6 separate regions of the Homo sapiens genome follow, and regions 1, 2, 3, 4 and 6 are each linked to region 5. The links are contacts of gene promoters, found by promoter capture Hi-C in human tissues and cell types (Jung and others, 2019). All regions are on one chromosome and are shown on one strand. The core of a region is centred on a gene start or on the middle of the fragment in contact, and the rest is flanking DNA. Distances in the headings are between cores, read along the strand shown.

The links. Contacts are between HindIII fragments. The study calls those that stand out against the background at their distance.
Region 1: a fragment that was not itself captured here is called in contact with the fragment with the promoter of RNF152 in region 5 in 1 of the 25 tissues and cell types used here (IMR-90 fibroblasts).
Region 2: a fragment that was not itself captured here is called in contact with the fragment with the promoter of RNF152 in region 5 in 1 of the 25 tissues and cell types used here (dorsolateral prefrontal cortex).
Region 3: a fragment that was not itself captured here is called in contact with the fragment with the promoter of RNF152 in region 5 in 1 of the 25 tissues and cell types used here (stomach).
Region 4: a fragment that was not itself captured here is called in contact with the fragment with the promoter of RNF152 in region 5 in 1 of the 25 tissues and cell types used here (stomach).
Region 6: a fragment that was not itself captured here is called in contact with the fragment with the promoter of RNF152 in region 5 in 1 of the 25 tissues and cell types used here (mesendoderm cells).

What each region holds. Positions count from the first base shown.
Region 1 is chr18:60,738,695-60,741,975 of GRCh38, forward strand. No RefSeq gene overlaps it. Among named protein-coding and RNA genes, the nearest start is that of MC4R, 370 kb to the left of the region's middle. The HindIII fragment of the contact is 4,222 bases long and covers 1-3,281 here.
Region 2 is chr18:60,676,112-60,679,363 of GRCh38, forward strand. No RefSeq gene overlaps it. Among named protein-coding and RNA genes, the nearest start is that of MC4R, 300 kb to the left of the region's middle. The HindIII fragment of the contact is 8,619 bases long and covers 1-3,252 here.
Region 3 is chr18:63,206,555-63,209,953 of GRCh38, forward strand. All of the region lies in intron 2 of BCL2 (BCL2 apoptosis regulator), which reads right to left. Among named protein-coding and RNA genes, the nearest start is that of BCL2, 110 kb to the right of the region's middle. The HindIII fragment of the contact is 4,136 bases long and covers 1-3,399 here.
Region 4 is chr18:63,377,531-63,380,980 of GRCh38, forward strand. All of the region lies in intron 1 of KDSR-DT (KDSR divergent transcript), which reads left to right. Among named protein-coding and RNA genes, the nearest start is that of KDSR-DT, 12 kb to the left of the region's middle. The HindIII fragment of the contact is 7,971 bases long and covers 1-3,450 here.
Region 5 is chr18:61,891,506-61,894,504 of GRCh38, forward strand. It overlaps RNF152 (ring finger protein 152), which reads right to left and starts at 1,502. Exons shown (of 2, transcript NM_173557.3): 1 at 1,290-1,502. RefSeq lists silencers at 2,688-2,837, 2,908-2,999. The HindIII fragment of the contact is 14,100 bases long and covers 1-2,999 here.
Region 6 is chr18:60,865,125-60,868,153 of GRCh38, forward strand. No RefSeq gene overlaps it. Among named protein-coding and RNA genes, the nearest start is that of CDH20, 470 kb to the right of the region's middle. The HindIII fragment of the contact is 7,027 bases long and covers 1-3,029 here.

The sequences.
Region 1 (3,281 bases), core at 749-3,248, 1.2 Mb before region 5:
TTGGTCATCAAATAGAACCTTTATTTTAATCACAAATATCCAAGACTATTCTAGAAAAGTAAGTGTTTAATGTCTCTTAGTGCTACATGGAGAACAAAAAATGATCAATTCTGGTTATTTTCCAGAAGTCAGAAAGTAGAAATTAGAGGGCTTTAGGGCAGCATGTACAAATAACAGGAAGGGACTAACATTGAGCAGCTACTGTGCTCATAAACACATACTATTTACGTGATATAATATCTTTGTGAAGAACCATCATCATGGACACAGTGAGGGGAACATCACACACCAGGGCCTGTCGGGGGGTCGGGGGCAAGGGGAAGGAGAGCATTAGGACAAAAACCTAATGCATGTGGGGCTTAAAACCTAGATGACGGGTTGATAGGTGCGGCAAACCACCATGGCACATGTATACCTATGAAACAAACCTGCACGTTCTGCACGTGTATGCCAGGACTTAAAGTAAAATAACAAATAAATAATAAAAATTTTAAAAAGGTAAATACGGATGGAAAGAAAAAAAATCCACCCACACACAAAAATAGAGAAGCGTGTTAGTGATGGCAGTGGCAGCCCATCTGGAGCAGCTGTTGCAAAGATGCTGGCTGCAGCGGGGGAGAGGCAGCTGGGGGTGCCATTGTCACAGAGCTGGCGGGAGCTAGGAACAGACGGGAGCCCAGTCCCCTTCTGAGTTGGTGAAGCAGGAGCTCTGGGCTCCCTAGCACAACTACAGCCACCCAGATGTGGCTGCAGACCCAAGCATCCCTGTGCTCTTGGGGGCCCGGGAAGCCCCCCTTCCCCTGCAGGCTCAGAAGTGCCTGCTCCCGCTGCCTGGCCTCTCTCCACTCCTAGCGCCCATTCCAATTTTGAAGCAAAGTTGTAGCCAAGCCTGTCCACTGACACAACCTGGCCAGATGTCCCTGCACTAGGAGCAGCACTGACACGCCACCCCCCTGCCACCTCAGCCCCCTCTGGACTTTGGGTGCTGACGAGCATGGGAGGGAAGCTGAGGGGGTGCTGAGGGCAGCTCAGCACAGGGCTGCAGGCACCCCTTGTCATGAACAGCCTAAATGCCATGAATGGTGGCAGGAGGCAGACAGGTTCCTGGGTGGAAAGGGGCAGATCTCCCAGTGAAGCCCCACATTCAAACCGGGAGGCGTGAGGCATGGGGGCCTGGCTGCCAGTTCCATGGACTAGAGTGAGAACTTAGACGATGCTTTTTCCAGGCTGCTGATGGCCACACATGGACCAGTCAGTATGAGACTGTCTACCTTCTGAAGCCCATAAAAACTGGAACTCAGCAAGAACCAGGCAATGTTGGGAAGCCCTGCCTGCAGAGAGGTGCTACCCACTCTGGGTATCTTCTCAGCTGACAGCTGAGCAGACAATGGGATGACCTGCCTGCAGAAAAGAGGTAACCACGTAGAGTCTCTTGAGAGCTGTGTTATATCTCAATAAAGCACCCCTTTGCCTTACTCACCCTCCAGCTCTCTGCATACCTCTCTCTTCCTGGACACAGGACAAGAACTCGTGACTCACCAAATGGCAGGACAGAAAGAGCTGTAACACAAATAGGTCTGAAACATGCCCACCTGCTTGCCATCTTGGGAGTGACAAGGAGGAGAGGAGAGAGAAGGAGAGAAGAGCTGTGGCCCTTCAAGGAGCCTAGACCTAGGAGCTCCCCAAGCCAGGGCTGTGACACCCCTCTTTGGGGTTCTGTCGTTCCTAGCATCTCCAAGCTTCTGGTTGCCACTGCGTTCCCTGGTGCCCACAATAGAAGCTGCGTGCAGTATGTCTGGCCCAGCTGCAGCCTCCCAGGAAGCCAAAGCCCGTGCCGGTTCCTGGAGCTGCCGGCCCCGCCACAGCCAGAGTGCCTGGCTGTGCACAGTGTTGGGACCCCAGGCTTGCTCACTCACACATCTCCCCTCTCCGCAACTGGTTCACCCTTGGCAGGTATGAGATCCAGGCTGGTAGTGTGAGCCAAGTGCAGCCTGCCAGGCTGAGTGGGCAGAACAAGCCCAGCAGGCCTGAACTAAACTCAGGCAATGGCACCGCTGGCCACAGAGGTTTCCGGCTGGCAATGCAACACCCCAAGAATCCTGTGTCATTAGTCCACGTGGTGCTATAACAAAATGCCTGTGACTGTGCAACTTACAAAGAACAGACATTCATTTCTCATTTCTGGAGGTTGGGAGTCTAAGACTATAATGTCAGCAAGTTTTACATCTAAGGGGGCCCAGTGTACACTTCCAAGATGGCACAGAGATGCTGCATCATCCTCTGAGAAGAGAAACCTGTGTCCCCACATGGCAGAGGGGATGGAAGGGGAAGACAATGCTTTCTTCCACTTGGAGCTCTTTTATAAGGGTGTTAATCCCACTCCTGAGGGCAGAACCCTTGTGACTTAAGCAACTCCCAAAAGTCACACCTCTTAAACTATTGCACTGGGGATTAAGTGTCAACATAAATTTTAGAGGGAACAGTATCATTCAAATAATAGCAAGGAGGAAATCAAATGAGGAAATGAAATAAACTGTTTAATATAACACAGATAGAACCTAGAAAAACTGGGACTTTAATCTCATTCTAATTACATCATTGTATCACTGAAGTAAAAACAAAATGATCTTCTGAAAAAATTCCAAGTACCATCATTAACCATGGACTTTTAATGACACCAGAGTTTGTTAAATATTGATGACTCTTTCCAAACACTGTATTTTCCATTCAAGCTAAAACAAGCTAGAAATGTTGAGTATCTTCCCTTAGATATTTTATATGAAGCTATTTACTGGCCCATCATATGTGCTACAAGGTTAATGTGCTTCTTGCCTAAGATCTAGACATTACCTAGTCTTGTGTGTAAATAGTGAAAAATGGAGAGGAGTGACCTAATTAGTGAATGTTTTCATTACAATCTATGATTTTGGTGTTTCTATGTTAAATGCTTAATCTGTATTCTAGGATATTCATCGTTAGATTGTTTTTAGTTAAAATGTCCCTTAAAAATTGATCTACATTGGAAAATAAGATCATTTACATATAAAATGCAAATTTATTTTAGCTAAGAGGGATTAAACCATTTGAAAATTATTACATTAGCATAATCTTTTTATCTTTTAAAAATTTTATGCCAAGGGTTTCGTGGTAAAACTGACACACACTTGCCTAATGCTGGTAACAGGACACATTGGAACAAACCTTTTGTAAATAAATTTGGTAAAAATCAAACAAGAAATTGATCATGCTTGTATTCAGTCATATGTAATCTGATATCTGAC
Region 2 (3,252 bases), core at 499-2,998, 1.2 Mb before region 5:
GTTGTATGAACATTTCTTCTCCTATACCCAAGGCTACCAATTAACAGGTAACCAGTATTATTGATTTTTAAATGTAAAAGAGAAAATATAATTCGTGCCTTAATATGGTTAACTAATGAGTTTTCTAATATTTCCGACTGGTTTGCTAGCTTCCTGCTTTATATGATGCTATTTAATACCCTGTTTTCCACACTCAAATTACACTGTTCAACAGTGTCATCCCCTATGTTCTTCCACAGTAATATTAAATAATACAGAAGACATAAATTGGGTTTTGGTTGTTTACCCTAGGACGAGTATAAAATATGACACTTTTAATCATATTTTAATATTGTCATAGCAAGAACAATTTGGTTCGTGTTGCTTTTCCTTCCAGGAAAATGAAATAAAAAAAGTATATCAATTACTTATGAGAGAATTTATTTAGGGTTTCTAAAGATATAATAAGAATATCTAATTTTTATTTTATTAACTGCTTTGAATAATGGTTTACAATATCTGAGAAGACTCATGTTTGTACTATACAGGTGTAAATCTATTTAAAGCCATTCAGACAGTACTAGAGAGCATATAACATATGTAAGACTCCCAGAAACAAACCCTGAGAACAGTATTTGAGTTTATATGGAAGGTGAAAGGAACACCTGTAAGGAGGTGGGAGGAGTAAGACAAGAAAGGGCAGGTGGCGGGTAAAGGGTGTCTTGACAAGCCAGCTGGACCTGTGGGTGAACAGCGCTTAAACCCTCTGGGATTCTAGGAAAGTCAGCAGTCATTAGTTGAAGGCTTCTCTGGAGGATGTTAATTCTTCAGCACCTCTGGTCTGCTGTGCACGCAAGGAACCAGGCTCTGACAGCAGATAAAACCCTCAGGCAAAGAAATGTAAGTGCTGGCCACAAGGAGTCAGGCTAGGGTATGCCGAAGAGAAGATTAGGAGGGGGCTTAGGTGGAGCATCAACGGCACCTACTGCAGTATATTTAACTGAAGAGCCCACACCAGCTTCTGATGCCTAGAAAAAGTTCCTCTTTTTTTTTTTTTTTTTTTTTGACAGAGTCTTGCTTTGTCACACAGGCTAGAGTGCAGTGGAGCAATCTCAGCTCACTGCAACCTCTACCTCCCAAGTTCAAGCCATTCTCATGCCTCAGCCTCCCGAGTAGCTAAGATTACAGGTGCGCACCACAATTCCCAGCTAATTTTTGTATTTTTAGTAGAGCTAGATTTTTGCTATGTTGGCCAGGCTGGTGCCAAACTCCTGGCCCCAAGTGATCCACCCGCCTTGTCCTCCCAGAGTGCTGGGATTATAGGTATGAGCCACTGTGCCCAGTTGATGCTTAAAAAAATTCTAATGCTATTTTTCTTACTCTTCTGTAGCAGAGTAGAAAGCAAGTTTGTTTAACAGAATATTTGGATTTTCTTTTTTTTAAGTTCTGCAAAAGCTGATCACATAACAGCAATGTATTTCCCATCTGACATGACGTTGCTTCACCGCTTGCAGCTTATCTCCAAAGCTTCATTCCTCTGTCTTTTCTTGGTAAAGAATGTTGTTGTTGGGGAAGGACTGTCCAAATAAATGGTGAAGCTATGCTTTCAGGTCAGCAACATGCTGCAGAGTCCCTCTGAGTGGTCCAGCAAATAGCACATTCTGTGAGCATCAGGGTGTTGGCAGAGTTGGGGGTCATTGTATCAAGGCTGGGCTCTGAACCTGAACTCATGAGCCCTGCCTTCTCAAGCTCATCAGGATTTGCTTTGTTAGTTATTTGGGAGATTACAGTTTGCTTTGGAAGTTGTAAAATATCTTTAGAATGCATTGGTTTCTCTAAGTCCAATTTATTTCTGCAACATATTTTATCTGAGACTACACCAGGGAGAAACATAAATTAAAAGCTACTCAATTTGTGCCATTAGCCTGAAAGAATAATAGAAGAGACAACCTCTTCTTTGTCTTGGAAAATAAGTTAGCATACTTGTTTGACTACTAAAGGTGGGATTTCCAGATGTGTAATTTAGTTTAGATAGGTTGAAATAAAAGGTACATTTTCCTCTGAAATAAAGTAAAAGAGGCTGTAGTGTGGTGCTCTGTTCATGCCTCTAGAGATGGGAGAGCAGAAGATAAAGGGAAGGGAAAAGGAAGGGTCTAGGGAGCTAGGAAAACCAGTAACTTATGAGAAGGCTGCATCCTACTGAAGAAGTTATCAACTGAATTCCTGTGGTGGGCACTGGTCAATGAATTTACAGGAATTGCAATATGTTACCTTAAATTTAAAAATCATTCTACTCTGTAATGCAACTATTCAAAATACTTCCAATTAAAGTCTGGTAAAAACAAAACTTTGGTTAGCGGAATCTGGGGCAGGGAAAGAGGAGAAAGTAATCATTATTATATAAGAGACCAGCAGCACAGCACACAATATTTAGTAACCAGAATGTCTAACTACATTGTGGATTCTAATCAACTTCCTCCCAATAAGACATTCTGCTGCAGGGACATCCATCCCACTTTGTGGGGTTTGCAAACTTCTAAGAAACAAACCACTTAATAAGAGTGTCAAACATTGAGTAAGGCAACTGACCTAGACTCTCTCTCTCTTTTTTTTTTTTTTTTTTGGTCAATGTTGTTAAAATAAAGAAGTTTGGAAAGAACAGAAGGCTTCTCTTTATTACTTCTTCACAGCAGGTAAACAGCCTCCAAAAATTGCTTTGAGGCAATTAAGCAGGCAAAGGTTTTTATAAGGTTTTGAGGATGGAATCCCTGTGACAGTCCCAGGTAACCAAGTAGCAGAGACAATGAGTATAAGACCCAGAGAAAATTCCAAATTCCCAAACATTCTGGACTGAACATTTCCAAACAGGATATGGTAACTATGAGAAAATAAAATGAAATAAAAGATAAGAAAAAGTATTCCCTGTCACTTCTCTGATAAATATATGAATAGTTATTTCTCAGTAACTTGGCATTAACTTAGGGCCAAATAGAACACTCCAGCTAAGAGACCTAGGTAAAAATTTTTGAGATCCCGGGGACTCAAGATAGTCCAGGAACATATAGTCTTTCAATGGCAAGAAAGAAAATAAATATGCATAAACTGTTCATCCTAGACTAAGAAACATAAAGATTAAATACAATGTGCAAATTTTAATTGGAAATAAAAGAATCCAACTAAAAGAGATATTTTGGGAGGCAATTAGGGCAACTTTTTAAAAATTTATTTTAAATGGACATATTAAAGATTGTAGATATCATGTACAATATGATG
Region 3 (3,399 bases), core at 327-2,826, 1.3 Mb after region 5:
CCTGTGAGGCAGCAAAGATGGAGAGCTGAGACTGACCATCCAGAATCCAGGTGTGCCTTCGCCACACAGAACAACAAGCATCGTTGATGCCTCTAGTAAGTGCCAGGTGTTGGGTTAGATGCTGTTGGAGATATAAAAGGTGGAGACATCATCTCTGTCACTTAATGAGAGTGACACTGATCGGACAGGATTTAAAGAAGGGGACTCTGGTGTGGGTGGGAAGAGCACAGTGGGAGGGTTGGGGCAGGGGCACGGCCTTGGGACTAGAGTAGGTGGAGGCAGTGGGGCGGGGAGGAGGAAAAGAAGGAAGGAAGAGGCCGGTCAGAGGAAGCCCAAAAGTGGATTCCTGGACACACAGTAAAAAGGGGAGGACGACTTAAAGACGGTTTCCAGATGTGGGGGTCTGGGGAGAAGGGAAGCTTTTACAGCTGCTGACAGAGGCTGACAGATGCAGAGAGGGCTCGTGGTGAGCTGGCTGAATTCGGGGTAAACAAGAGGAGATTTCATGCTTCACCTCAGATGAGGAAATAGGACTAGGAATACAGTTTTATGATTGAAGCCGTGACAGAAAAGCCTTTCCAAAGGAGCACAGTGGAGGAGAGAACTGGAGAAGAGGCACGGAGACCGCCAAGCGTTCCAGGTGCAGGCGGCAGGAGGGAGCCCAGGATGCCGGCAGAGCGAGCCTTGGTCTGTGAACCCCAGGGCCGATGGGCACCGGCTCATCTAATTCATTTGTGTACAGATCCACAAAACTGCACCTGGCTGTGGCCGTCAGTAAGTGCTATATAAATGCTTCATAAGTGTTTGTTGAAGGAAGTTGAAATGTAGTCGTCAGAAGAGTGAGAGGGAAACCAGCGACAGAGCCTTGTAAGTCTAAGAAAAAGAATTCAAAGATGGTCAAGAGCTAACATTGCACAGGGAATTACAGTATTTCCGGAAGACCAAGGGCAACTCTGATTGTTCCAGACTGCCTGGGAGCACCAGAGTCTGATTGTTCCAGACTGCCTGGGAGCACCAGAGTCTGATTGTTCCAGACTGCCTGGGAGCACCAGAGGTCTGGGTGGGGGCAGGAGTCAGTCCACCTGGAACTTCTGCCTCCAGTGCACTGAGTCTGCACGGACCACCAGGGCTGACACTGCCTTACTTAATATGGGGGTGGGGGAAGTCCCTGCGATATATAATGGTCTCAATTTAAATTCTGTGCTGTTTTTATTTTAGCTGTGTAATTTGGAAACTTCAAATAAAAAGCCTGAAAGGAAAGTTGGACTATTTAAGCTTACACAGACTCTATTAATGCTATATGGTTATTCTACCCCTGACTTTGGAAGAAGGAGAAACTGGCATGGGAATACACTTTTCTAAAAAAAATACTATTTAAAAATATGAAAGTTTATTTAACATCTAAGGAAAGGTACTTAATTAGAGGGACACTCAACAAGAAGAATTGAGGATCTAAGTAAATAGTCCCCATCTGCTCCTGGTCCTACCACCTGGCGATTACTTCCTCTTCTTCTCTGATAGATTTTAGCCAACCAATTTTGTTTTATTTGTGCAAGTTGAGAGGCCACCTGTTATGGAATATACTTCCACATTAAACAAAGTGAACATTTCCTATTTCTGTGCTTCCCATATGATTTTTAAAACACAAAGCACTCACTTTCACCTTAAACAGATTTAAGAAATGCTGACTCTGATGAACAGGTATAAACAAGGCAATCTTTTGTTTATGAAAATTGTTAACGACCTACCCACAGAAAGACATGCCCTGCGCCACACTGTACCCCCCACCCCCGCCCACCCGGCTCCCCGATGCTGGTGAATTAATCTATCCACACGTTTTTGCTCATTTCCCTGGCTGTTACCAGCTGAAGTGAAGAAAAGACATTTTACAAGGGGACATGGTATATTTGTGCTAAAACAGGCACCACACAAATCCAGAGAAAGGAGCCAAAAGGAAATACCAGGCAGAGGGAACAGCGTGGATAAAGGCAAAGCTGAGAAGAGGGTAAGTGTTTCGTGTTGGGGGATGGTGTATCTGGGGGCTGGGGGGAGTGGGGTACAGTGTATTGGGTTGAGGATTTATAGCCAGGAAAACTGGAAATAAAGGGGAAGGAGACTTTGTGAAGGGTTTTAACTATCGGGCTAAGGAAAGCTGCATTGTTCCTAACAACTGGGCACCAGTGGAAGTTTAGAGCCAGGAATATAATTGTCACAGAGGTGCTTTGGACTGAATAATACTGTGGCTGTAGGCAGCTCTGGGTTGGGGGTTGGGAGGTACAAGCCTCCAGGAATCCACTGCAGCAGTGTGGGCCCTGCCACGTTGTCCTGAACAAAGTGCTATGGGGATGGACACAAACATGAAGTGAAAACTCCAGAGATCACCTGACCTCCACGTGCCACTGCTCTGACTGCTGGACCACAGTGATGTTTGGGGTCTCCTGGAATTAGTGTCAGCTCAGAGCCAGTCACCAGTAGTCCCCAAAAGGTCTGATTAATTCCTTTTCCCCAGTGCACAGTCACCCTGGCAAAAGGCTATAGGTCCCTTTGGGGAAGGCTGGGAGAAAAAGCAACAGTATTAATTCTTGACAGTGTGGTAGGGTCCTTCGTCAAGGAGACCCGGCCTCCTCTTCATTCAAGGGCTTCTGGGTCGGTAAATTGGTGCAAGTGTGTGAATTGATCGAGGGGCCGTGACTCTCTGTTTTCAGGGTGCAAGTTGGGCTTTTGTTCCCTTCACCTAGAACTCCTCCACTTATACAGACCAAGTAAGGGTTTAGTAGATGTCCGCCTATGTCATTTCTAGGAACGCCATGAGGACAGGGTTGGAAGTGGGGGAAATGAAGTGTTAGTCTGTGTACGGATACAAAGAAAGTGAGATGATGGAACTGAAGATGACTAAGATGTGGGGAGCCAGGACTAGTGGTTCCCATTGGCAGGTGGTCTCCTAACTGGCAATGCTAGGGAGAAGTGTATAAATCCTCAACCCAATACACTGTACCCAATACACTGTTAGTGGCGGAGGGAGAGGCAGAGCTTGGTTTGAAATGGTGGGGGATTCTCCAAGGTGGCATGGACATACAGGATGGAAATGGGAGACGTGTCAGGCCTGGAGATATGGGTTTTGGAACAACCTGCATTAAAATTGGAAGGATTAGAGAGAGTAGGTGAGATCTCCGAGACAGAGGAAACAGAGCGAGGAAGCTAAGACCTAGGCTGGGGCAAATGTCTGAATTTACCTGAGTGGGGGAAGACAGAGAAGCTGGCATGTTGGACAGAGATGACTGGTCACCAAGACAGAAGGAAGAATCAGGCCGTTTAACAGGATCAAGAGGGTCTAGTGTTTAAAGAGAGATCTTTCCAACTGCTACAGGAAAGTAAAATGTTATGGCTCCAGACACCTGC
Region 4 (3,450 bases), core at 48-2,547, 1.5 Mb after region 5:
TAACTCCCTTCCTTCCTTCCTTCCTTCCTTCCTTCCTTCCTTCCTTCCTTCCTTCCTTCCTTCCTTCCTTCCTCCTTCCCCCCTTCCTTCCTTCCTTCCTTCTGTTCATTCCAGGTCTTTAGATAATAACTCTTTCAACCAATTGCCTATCAGAAAATCTTGGAATCTGCCTATGACCTCCCAGTTTCCAGTTGTTCCACCTTTCTGGACCAAACCAATGTACATCTTACACGTATTGATTGATGTCTCATGTCTCCCTAAGATGTATAAACCAAGCTGCAGCCCAACCACCATGGGCATATGTTCTCAGGATCTCCCGGGGCTGTGTCATGGGCCATTGTTCACTCATATTTGGCTCAGTATAAATCTCTTCAAATGTTTTAGAATTTGACTCTTTTGGTTGACATGAAAAAGTTGAAAGCAGGAAATAAACAATAAGAACCATTAAGCTAATTTCTAATCTTATCTGATAATTTTTTTTAAATATTTTTTGTATCTTGTTGAAACCATTAAAAAGATATTTTGGATTACCTTAGAATAGCAATATTGGCATTCTTACTCTTCTTACATTCTTAAAAATGAACAAAATATAGAAAATTAAATTAAAAACACTTTTTTTTGAGATGGAGTCTCTATCTGTCACCCAGGCTAGGGTGTGGCATGATCTCAGCTCACTGTAACCTCCGCCTCCTGGGTTCAAGCGACTCTCCTGCCTCAGCCTCCCGAGTAGCTGGGATTACAAGCATGTGCCCCCATGCCTGGCTAATTTTTGTATTTTTAGTAGAGATGGGTTTCATATGTTGGCCAGGCTGGTCTTGAACTCCTGACCTCAGCGGATCTGCCTGCCTCAGTTTCCCAAAGTGCTAGGATTACAGGCGTGAGCCATTGTGCCCGGCCTGAAAGATACATAGTTTCTTTTTTTTCTTCTTCTTCTTTTTTTTTGAGACAGAGTTTTGCTCTTGTCACCCAGTCTGGAGTGCAATGGCACAATCTTGGCTCGCTGCAACCTCTGCCTCCTGGGTTCAAGTGATTCTCCTGCCTCAGCCTCCTGAATAGCTGGGATTACAGGCACCTGCCACCATGCCTGGGTAATTTTTGTGTTTTTAGTAGAGATGAGGTTGCACCATGTTGGCCAGGCTGGTCTCGAACTCCTGACCTCAGGTGATCTGCCTGCCTTGGCCTTCTAAAGTGCTGGGATTACAGGTGTGAGCCACCGTGCTCGACTTGAAAGGTAAGTAATTTCTTTTGAAAGGAACTGGCACAATCCTGATACAGAGGTATTATGAGAGAAAAAAAAAAAAAGAGGGGAAAGAGCGGTGAAGAGCAGAAAGACTCCTCAATAGATTTACACTCAGGGAAAAAACAAAACAAAACAAAAAATCTTTTATTTGGATACTTAAATATTTCACCATGATTTAAAACATTTGGTGAAGCAGTTATTTTATGAAGGAAGACTACAAATGCAAGGACTCAGGGAAGAATGATGAAACAACAAGAGGAGATAAAAGTTACACTGGCAGAAATCAGGAAAGAAGTAAAAGTAAAAATCATCACAGATATGAAAATGAAAGTGAACGCAGGAGGAGAATAGAGTGAAAAACACAGTAAGGAACAGAAAGGAAATAATGAGTAAAGCAAACAAAATGAAATGAAAACAAAGAATTTAAAAGACAGAAAAAAAGATAAGAAAACAGACAAAGGATGTGAGTCGACATATGTAGAATAGGAATACCTGAAGAAAAAAAACAAGACATTAGAAATATTTTTAAAAATTTCAAATACACTTTCCTAAAATACTAAAGCATTTGAACATTTATATGTGTGTGTACACACATACACATAAATAGATAGATAGATAGGTAGATAGATATGATATTTTACACCAGGGAAAACTGACTGAAAATAATCAACATTGAGTCATTCTCTAGTAAGTATTGGATTTTAAAAGAGTGAAGACTTTGGTCAGTTAGACAAAATCATCAGGTCAGTTGTCTTAAAAAGAGATCAGGCTAGTTTCAGGTTTCTCCAGAGTGACATTCAACATGAGAGAACGATGCAACATCTGTCAGATCCTCAAGGAAGGAATGTTGTGTCAAGGTTTCACGTTCAGCGAATCTGTATTTCACCCATAAAAGTTTCAGACAAATAATTTTGAACATCTAATAACCAAGGAAATCTTTTTCCCATAAGCAGTTCTTGAGGAAATTATTAAGACTACAGGATGACTCAGCCAGCCAATAGCTGACTGGGAAAAGCATAGTAAAAGAGCAATCTTTTGAAAATTGAATCTATTTAACAGTACACCAAAGCCTAAAGCAAATGTGAGATGTAGGGTAAAGAATAATATGTATGTACATGTTATATGCAAAAATAATACAAAGGGCAAATTTTGGGAGAGGAAGGAGAAAAACGTGAAAGATGTGTGGGAAGCACTGAAGATCAGTTAGTCATTGATTCTTTTTTTTTCTTTTCTTTTTTTTTTTTTTGAGACGGAGTCTCACTGTGTCGCCCTGGCTGGAGTGCAGTAGCACGATCTCCGCTCACTGCAACCTCCACCTCCCGGGTTCAAGTGATTCTCATGCTTTAGCCTCCCGAGTAGCTGGGATTACAGGCTCCCACCACCTCACTCGGCTAATTTTTATACTTTTAGTAGAGACGGGATTTCACCATGTTGGCTGGGATGGTCTCAAACTCCTGACCTCAAGTGATCCGCCCGCCTCAGCCTCCCAAAGTGCTGGGATTACAGGCTTGAACCACCACGCCCGGCAGTTAGTCATAGATTCTATCACTAGATATTTTTTAAACTGCAGAAACGATTCTTTATCCTTCAGTGTTATTTATTTAGACATGTTTGCTTCATGTAGTGTTTAAGTGCATGTGTGGGTTTTTTTTCCCCGAACCATTTCAAAGTAATTTATAGACATCATGGCACTTCCTCTGCATCCCTGTATGAGCACACTTAAGCATATGTCTTCTAAAGTGAAGGGTACAATGCACACTAACATTACCTACAATACCATTATCGCACCTAAGGCAATAACAATTCCATAATATTACCTACAATCCAGCCCATATTCATATTTCTTCAATTGCCCCCCATTTTTTTTTCTAGATGGGATTTCACCATGTTGGGCAGGCTGGTCTTGAACTCCTAGCCTCAAGTGATCCACCTGCCCTGACCACTCAAAATGCTGGGATTGCGGGCGTGAGCCACTGTGTCCAGCCCAAATTGTCTTTTATAGCTTTTTTTTTTTTCCAAACTAGGATCCAAGCAAGGTTCATATATTGCATTGAGTTATACATCTCCAACTTTTTTTAATCTAGAAGAATAGAAGAATCTTCCAACCTTTTTAGAAAAATGACATTAACTTTTTTGAAGAGACTGGGTCAGTTGTCTTGTAGAAGACCCTGCATTCTCTTCTGACTGATTGATTTCTTGTGGTGTTATTT
Region 5 (2,999 bases), core at 252-2,751:
TCTTGCAGCAACACAGTACACACCCTGTACTATTGCTGACATAAAAATTACTTGTCAAAAATACCTCTATCTTAGCACCACATTACTCATCTGATCTTTGCAAAGCACTGGCCTTTGTTTCACCTGGGACTAGATAACTCAACTGCTTTTACTAGTGACTCCTGAATGCTTGTAGTAGAAGGATAAATGCTAGTGTCACCTATGTTTTTAAAGTCACCTTCCAAAACAAAACTACATTGGAGGTGAATAATAAATCTTTCAAGTTTTTAACTTCATTTTTCAAGGGATTTGGAGGAAAATGGTGAAGAGAGAATCTGTCACAGATACCAAGGTGTTACTGCAATGTAAAAGAGAGTAGACCAGGAGCCTTTGGCCCTCAGCAATCTGTCTTCCTACAAGAAAAATCGAAAGCCCATTTCCATAACCATTCTTATTCCCTGCTACTAGTGTAGGATGCGCAGGACTCTGCCCTCTAGCAGAAAATGCTAATGCCGGAGTGTCCTGCTAAGTCTGAAGGTTACGTTTTTTCATTGCACTCTTATCAAGATAACCCCAGATCTGGCTAGGCTGACATCAAAACAGAACTATCCTTGGAAAGAAAAGAACAGGCCAGAGTTTTTGGAAAAGCCCCAATAACCTAAAGATAAAATCCAGAATGAGAGTCTACTGGTTCATGGCTATCTAAATGGAAACTTCACTCAAGCTGTTTTCTCTGTTCTCTTTCTGCTGCCCCCAACAGCCCTCCCTTCCACCTCCCAGTACTCACTGCTAGCATGTCTCTCTTAATATTGCAAACACTATTACAATGAAGGAACAGAAGAAAGACAGTATTTCATACGAAGGTCACTGCATTTGACCGGTGCTCAATTAGAGCACTGGGCAAAAGTACAATCAGCCTTCCAATGATACCTTTTCAACAAAGGATACCCCACCTCTAGACTGAAGCCTAAATCTATTACTACAGATAAGAAAGCAGGCATCTATGGAAACCTAACATTCAGATACAACTGCCTGTGTATGAATTATATCAAAATTCCCATGAAAGGAAACCAGGTGGGATTTCTACAATCCCAAATTCACCCTGCACCTACCTCCAATGGCTTCTTCAAAGGGAAGGTATAAAGTCATTTGCAATTTATTTCTTTGAACCAGGAGTTTTAGCAGCCCCCACACCTTCTCACAGATAGGAACGATGTTGATGCAGAAACCACCCAAACAGCCCTGTGCCAGCACTGTCGGCCCAAATGACCCAGAGACACCCAGGCGCTACCCAGATCGTGGGGGGTTACCTGTATCTGTCACCGAGTCTCTTTCACCCCTTCTGCGTGATGACATCAAGTGGAAATGGTACACGTTTAGGAGGCAAGAGGCTGACAGGCAGGAAACACAATTGAGACTGAGCTTTCTTCAGCCTGCAGTGAAATACATGCAGGAAGGGTTAGATACGCGCCGCGGAGAAGGAAATCCAAGCGCCCTCCTGGGCAGACGGGGCTGGAGCGGGTGCACTAGGGAGGTGGAGCAAGGCAGATGAGGTGTGGAGGGCTGGCGGCCGAGAAGGGGGCGTCACGGCTCCTAATTGTCTCTACAGGATAAATAACCACCTCCCCCCTCCTCCGCAGTCTCCCCCGCCCACGAGTTCCCCTCTGGTGGCAGAGCGCCTACTAGCAACAGTAAGCCCTAGGAAAGAAAGAAATCGGAGCAGGTGGGGAATAACATCTTGGGGCAAAGACACACTGGCAAAATCTACCAGGTAACCCGGTCATATGGGAATGCGGGGCGCCTAGTCAGCCGCGCAGACAGGCACACAGCGCGGCAATCCCGAGCATCTTTCTTTCGTTTGCCCCTGTCCGCCACCTCATCAAGTCACCGCCACCTCATCAAGTCACCGTCACCTCATCAAGTCACCGTCACTCTGCTTTGGCGATTTCTCTACTCTCTCCAGACCCAGGCAGCGCTCCCCAAGCCATGCCCCGACCCCAGGCGGGATTGGGGACCGCCGCTTCCCGAGCAGCGCCCCACGAGTCCAGCTGGCTTTGTCCTGCCGCTGTCCTTCCAGGAGCAAGCGCCCCAGGCGCGTGTGTCTGCACAAAAGACCCCCAACATCTGGCCCTTCACAGCGCTCTCTAATCCCGGGAGGGGCCCTGGGGCAACTTCTAGGGCTGGAGAAGGCGCGAGACAAGGGGACCGGGAGAAGATGAGCCGGGGTGTGTGCGGGCCGGGGGCGCAACTGGGGCGGGCGCGCGCGCACGTGCACACCCAGGGGCGCGCGCGGCGCGGGCACGAGGAAAGCTCCCTCGGACCGGAGCTCCAGGGGGCATCCGAGGACTCGGCCGAGCAGCCGACAGCGCCGCTCCCCGCCGCGGCCGCCCGCCCAACTCCGCCAGCTCTCAGGAGACACGCAACTCCCGGGACCACCTCCCCCGTGCCCCGCCAGACCCCGCGCTCCCCTCCCCGGGACCCTGCGGCCCCGCCACCCCCTCCGCGGTCCAGAAGATCTCCCCAGTTACAGCAGGCGGCAGCTGCCCTTTCCCGCTTCCACGGCTTCGGCGCGGCCGCCGTAGGGGCGCAGACATCCCTGCGCACCCCTCTGTCCGCCCCCGATCCGGAGCCGGCAGAGCAGAGAAACAAACCGAAACTCACTGACCTTTCTCCGCGGCGGGCTCGGGTGCTCGCTACAGAGGCGGCGGCGGCGGCGACAGCATCGCCGGGTGGTCCCGGCGCGCCCGCTCCTTTCAGCCAGACTCGCGCCCCGGGCCGGCGGCCGCCGCTCCTCCGGCCGAGAGCCACGGGGCGGACGCTGACAGCGCGGCGGCGGCGCCTGCAGCCCCAGCACCCGGCCCGGCCCTTCGGGCGGCACCCCCACCTGCCCGGCCGCCCTCCGCGTTCGCGGTCGGACACCGCCGCCAGGCGCTCGGCACCGAGCGAGAGCTTTTTGTGTCACTGAGACTCCGGCACCAAAGGGGGTGGGGGGAGAGGCTGGGCTCCGCTCCCCGCGGCAC
Region 6 (3,029 bases), core at 87-2,586, 1.0 Mb before region 5:
ATCCTCTATGATAAATCTAGTTGCTCTTGAAGACTTTTAATATTTATCTGCCTGCCTTGTAAATACCTTATTAAAAGCAAGAGCAAAAAGATGATCTTGGAAATAAATCTATTTTAATGTGATATTTTTTCATAATATAAAAATTTGAGAACTTTAAACTCCAAATAAGTAAAGACTTAAGAAAAAGTAATTTAGAACAGAGTAAGAAAGAATAGTAAATAGGTTACACTAATCATAGAAGCAATATTAATTTTAAAAATTTGGGATGTATTTACTTATTCATTTATTTTTATTTATTGATTGATTTCTTCTGAGACAGGTTCTCCTCTGTCTCTCAGGCTGGAGTACAGTGGTGTGATCACGGCTCACTGTAGCCTTGTCCTCAACCTCCGGGGTTCAAGTGATTCTCCCACCTCAGCCCTCCTGAGTAACTGGGACCAGAAGTGAAAGCCACTACGCTCAGCTAACTTTTTGTATTTTTTGTACAGATAGGGTTTTGCCGTTGCCCAAACTGGTCTGGAACTCCAGGGTTCAACGGATCCTCCCACCTTGCCCTCCCAAAGTGTTAGTATTATGGGAGTGAGCCACTATGCCTGGCCAGGATTTATTTTTATAAAAAAATAAAAGAGTAAAGAACCACAGATAAAACATTAATTGAATTGTGTATCCACAAGCATCCCAAACAGAAAACAATTCAAAGTTTTCACTATTCGTGTTTTTTGTTTTTGTTTTCCTCATATCTTCATTTCAGGCTTTTTTTCTTGTTCTCTTTCAATGGACTAGTAGTGATGTAATTAGCGCTCATGGCTTTTTATCAGCAACAGGAATTCCTTTTCACTCCTTTTTGTTTATGTTTCATTTTGCAGGTTGCAGCAAGGTTTTTTGGCTCTTTACAAAGGGCCTGTCAAAAGCCAAGAGAGCAAAAGACAATGTGGAGATTACAGGCAGGAGACAAGGGCCAAATTTGTTAATAGAACATTTGTGTCTTGCTGAGCTGGCTGCCCTTGGGGTGGATGTAGCTAGTGAACCTTGGGTCTACAAAGCAGATGTTCCCTTTCCAGAGAGACAAGACCACATACTTCCTACTGTTCTGAAAATGAAGATGGGGGATGTCAGAAGACAAGCCCAACAAGCTTTCATATGTTTCTCATTGCCTTTGCCCACATCTTAAATATGCTAGAGGGCCCAATGGACATGCCCTTTTATTTCACCACCCCCTACAGAACTGAGGTAAATATGGCTACATGAAACTAACTTTAGTGTTAGAGTTCATTTTCTCACATCACTCAGTAATTATAACCTCGAGGGCAGTCCTTCAAGTTAAGAAAGAGCAAACGCTAATCTCAATTTTAAAATTGACAATGATCTTCCAGTTAATATTATTATCACTTCTAAAAAGCATGAGGCTATATCTTTGCAGTACCCAACTAGATGTAAGGTGCTTAAGTAATGAGGATGCTGAAATGATTAGTTTTTTGGTACATATCAAAAGCAGTGCTCTCGGCGGGGCGCGGTGCCTCACGCCTGTAATCCCAGCACTTTGGGAGGCCAAGGCGGGCGGATCACGAGGTAAGGAGATCAAGACCATCCTGGCTAACACAGTGAAACCCCGTCTCTACTAAAAATACAAAAAAAATAGGCAGGCGTGGTGGTGGGCGCCTGTATTCCCAGCTACTCGGGAGGCTGAGGCAGGAGAATGGCGTGAACCCGGGAGGCGGAGTTTGCAGTGAGCCGAGATCGCGCCACTGCAATCCAGCCTGGGTGACAGAGTGAGACTCCGTCTCAAAAAAAAAAAAAAAAAGTAGTATTCTCATTGTCCGTGTTAATTTCCTTGTTGCTTTGGGACTACCAGTGGGATATTTTCAGAACTTTCCAGCCCAAGCTAAATAACCTGTCATTTTTATGCAATTGAGGAGAATTTTACTCTATGTTTTCCATAAATATTTTCCTGAATTTTCTTATTCTACAGTGAAAGTCCAATATTTTTAATGATTCCAAATGTAATTTTTAAAAATATATTTAAAGCACAGTGTTTAACTCAAATTTGTAGTTGTCTTACTTTCACTGAGAAGCAACATTTTATTATCCTAAGAAAAGAAATTGTAGGCATTTACTTTGATACAGTTCAAGGCCAGAAAAGAAAGGAGAGTGATCTGACTTTCCACACTGTAGGACGTAGGCCAATAGAGCTACCCACAACCATATATCCCAATATATTAGTCAACTCATAAAAATTATTCAACTCATCAACAAAAGTGCTCACCAACGCCAACTGATAAATTTGTCATGTGAGAAAAATCACTGGGATCATCTTTCCTCCTGGTGCATTGTGAATTTTTCCCTAGGATTTTAGAAAGTACCCTCTTCAAGTACTGATAGAATTATCATATAGCGAAAGTAGACATTAATTGAAATCTCATAAATATATTCCATTTTTGGCATGACATTTTTTAATAAAAGATTAATAAAGCTACCCATAAGTATCCAGAAAAACTAGCTCTGTATGTTTTCCAAACCTAGCTTATTTTGTTTCTTTTTAATTATATTTTTAAATATGTCACTTACTGACAGTATTCAAGAAAAAGTAGCGACCAGTATGAAAAAACTTTTACCTGGATCACCATAGCATTTTGTGTATTTTATACTAAATACAAGTATCATCTTTAAAATATGTTATTTGGTAGTCATTTGGTAGCTACAGGGTAAAATTAAGTGTAATTTTCCCAGCTCAGCTTTTCACAACTTGCTACTAAGATAAGAGAACTGGCAAAGCATGGAAAGTGATTACCAACATTTCCATGATTGGCAGGATGTTACAGCTCTGTTCAGTGTTCCTCGGGTGGCTGGCTTTTGGTTTAACCCAGCTGATGGAGTGCTCATGCTCTATTTCCCCACAGTTGCCACCAGGCTTACTCTTCTTTAGGAAGTCAAGTTCACTGCCAAGCAGAAAATGAGGAATCCATCTTGCTCTATGTGGGTACAGCTACTTCTCCATACCCATCAGCAATTTTCCTTTACTCTCAGTTGAA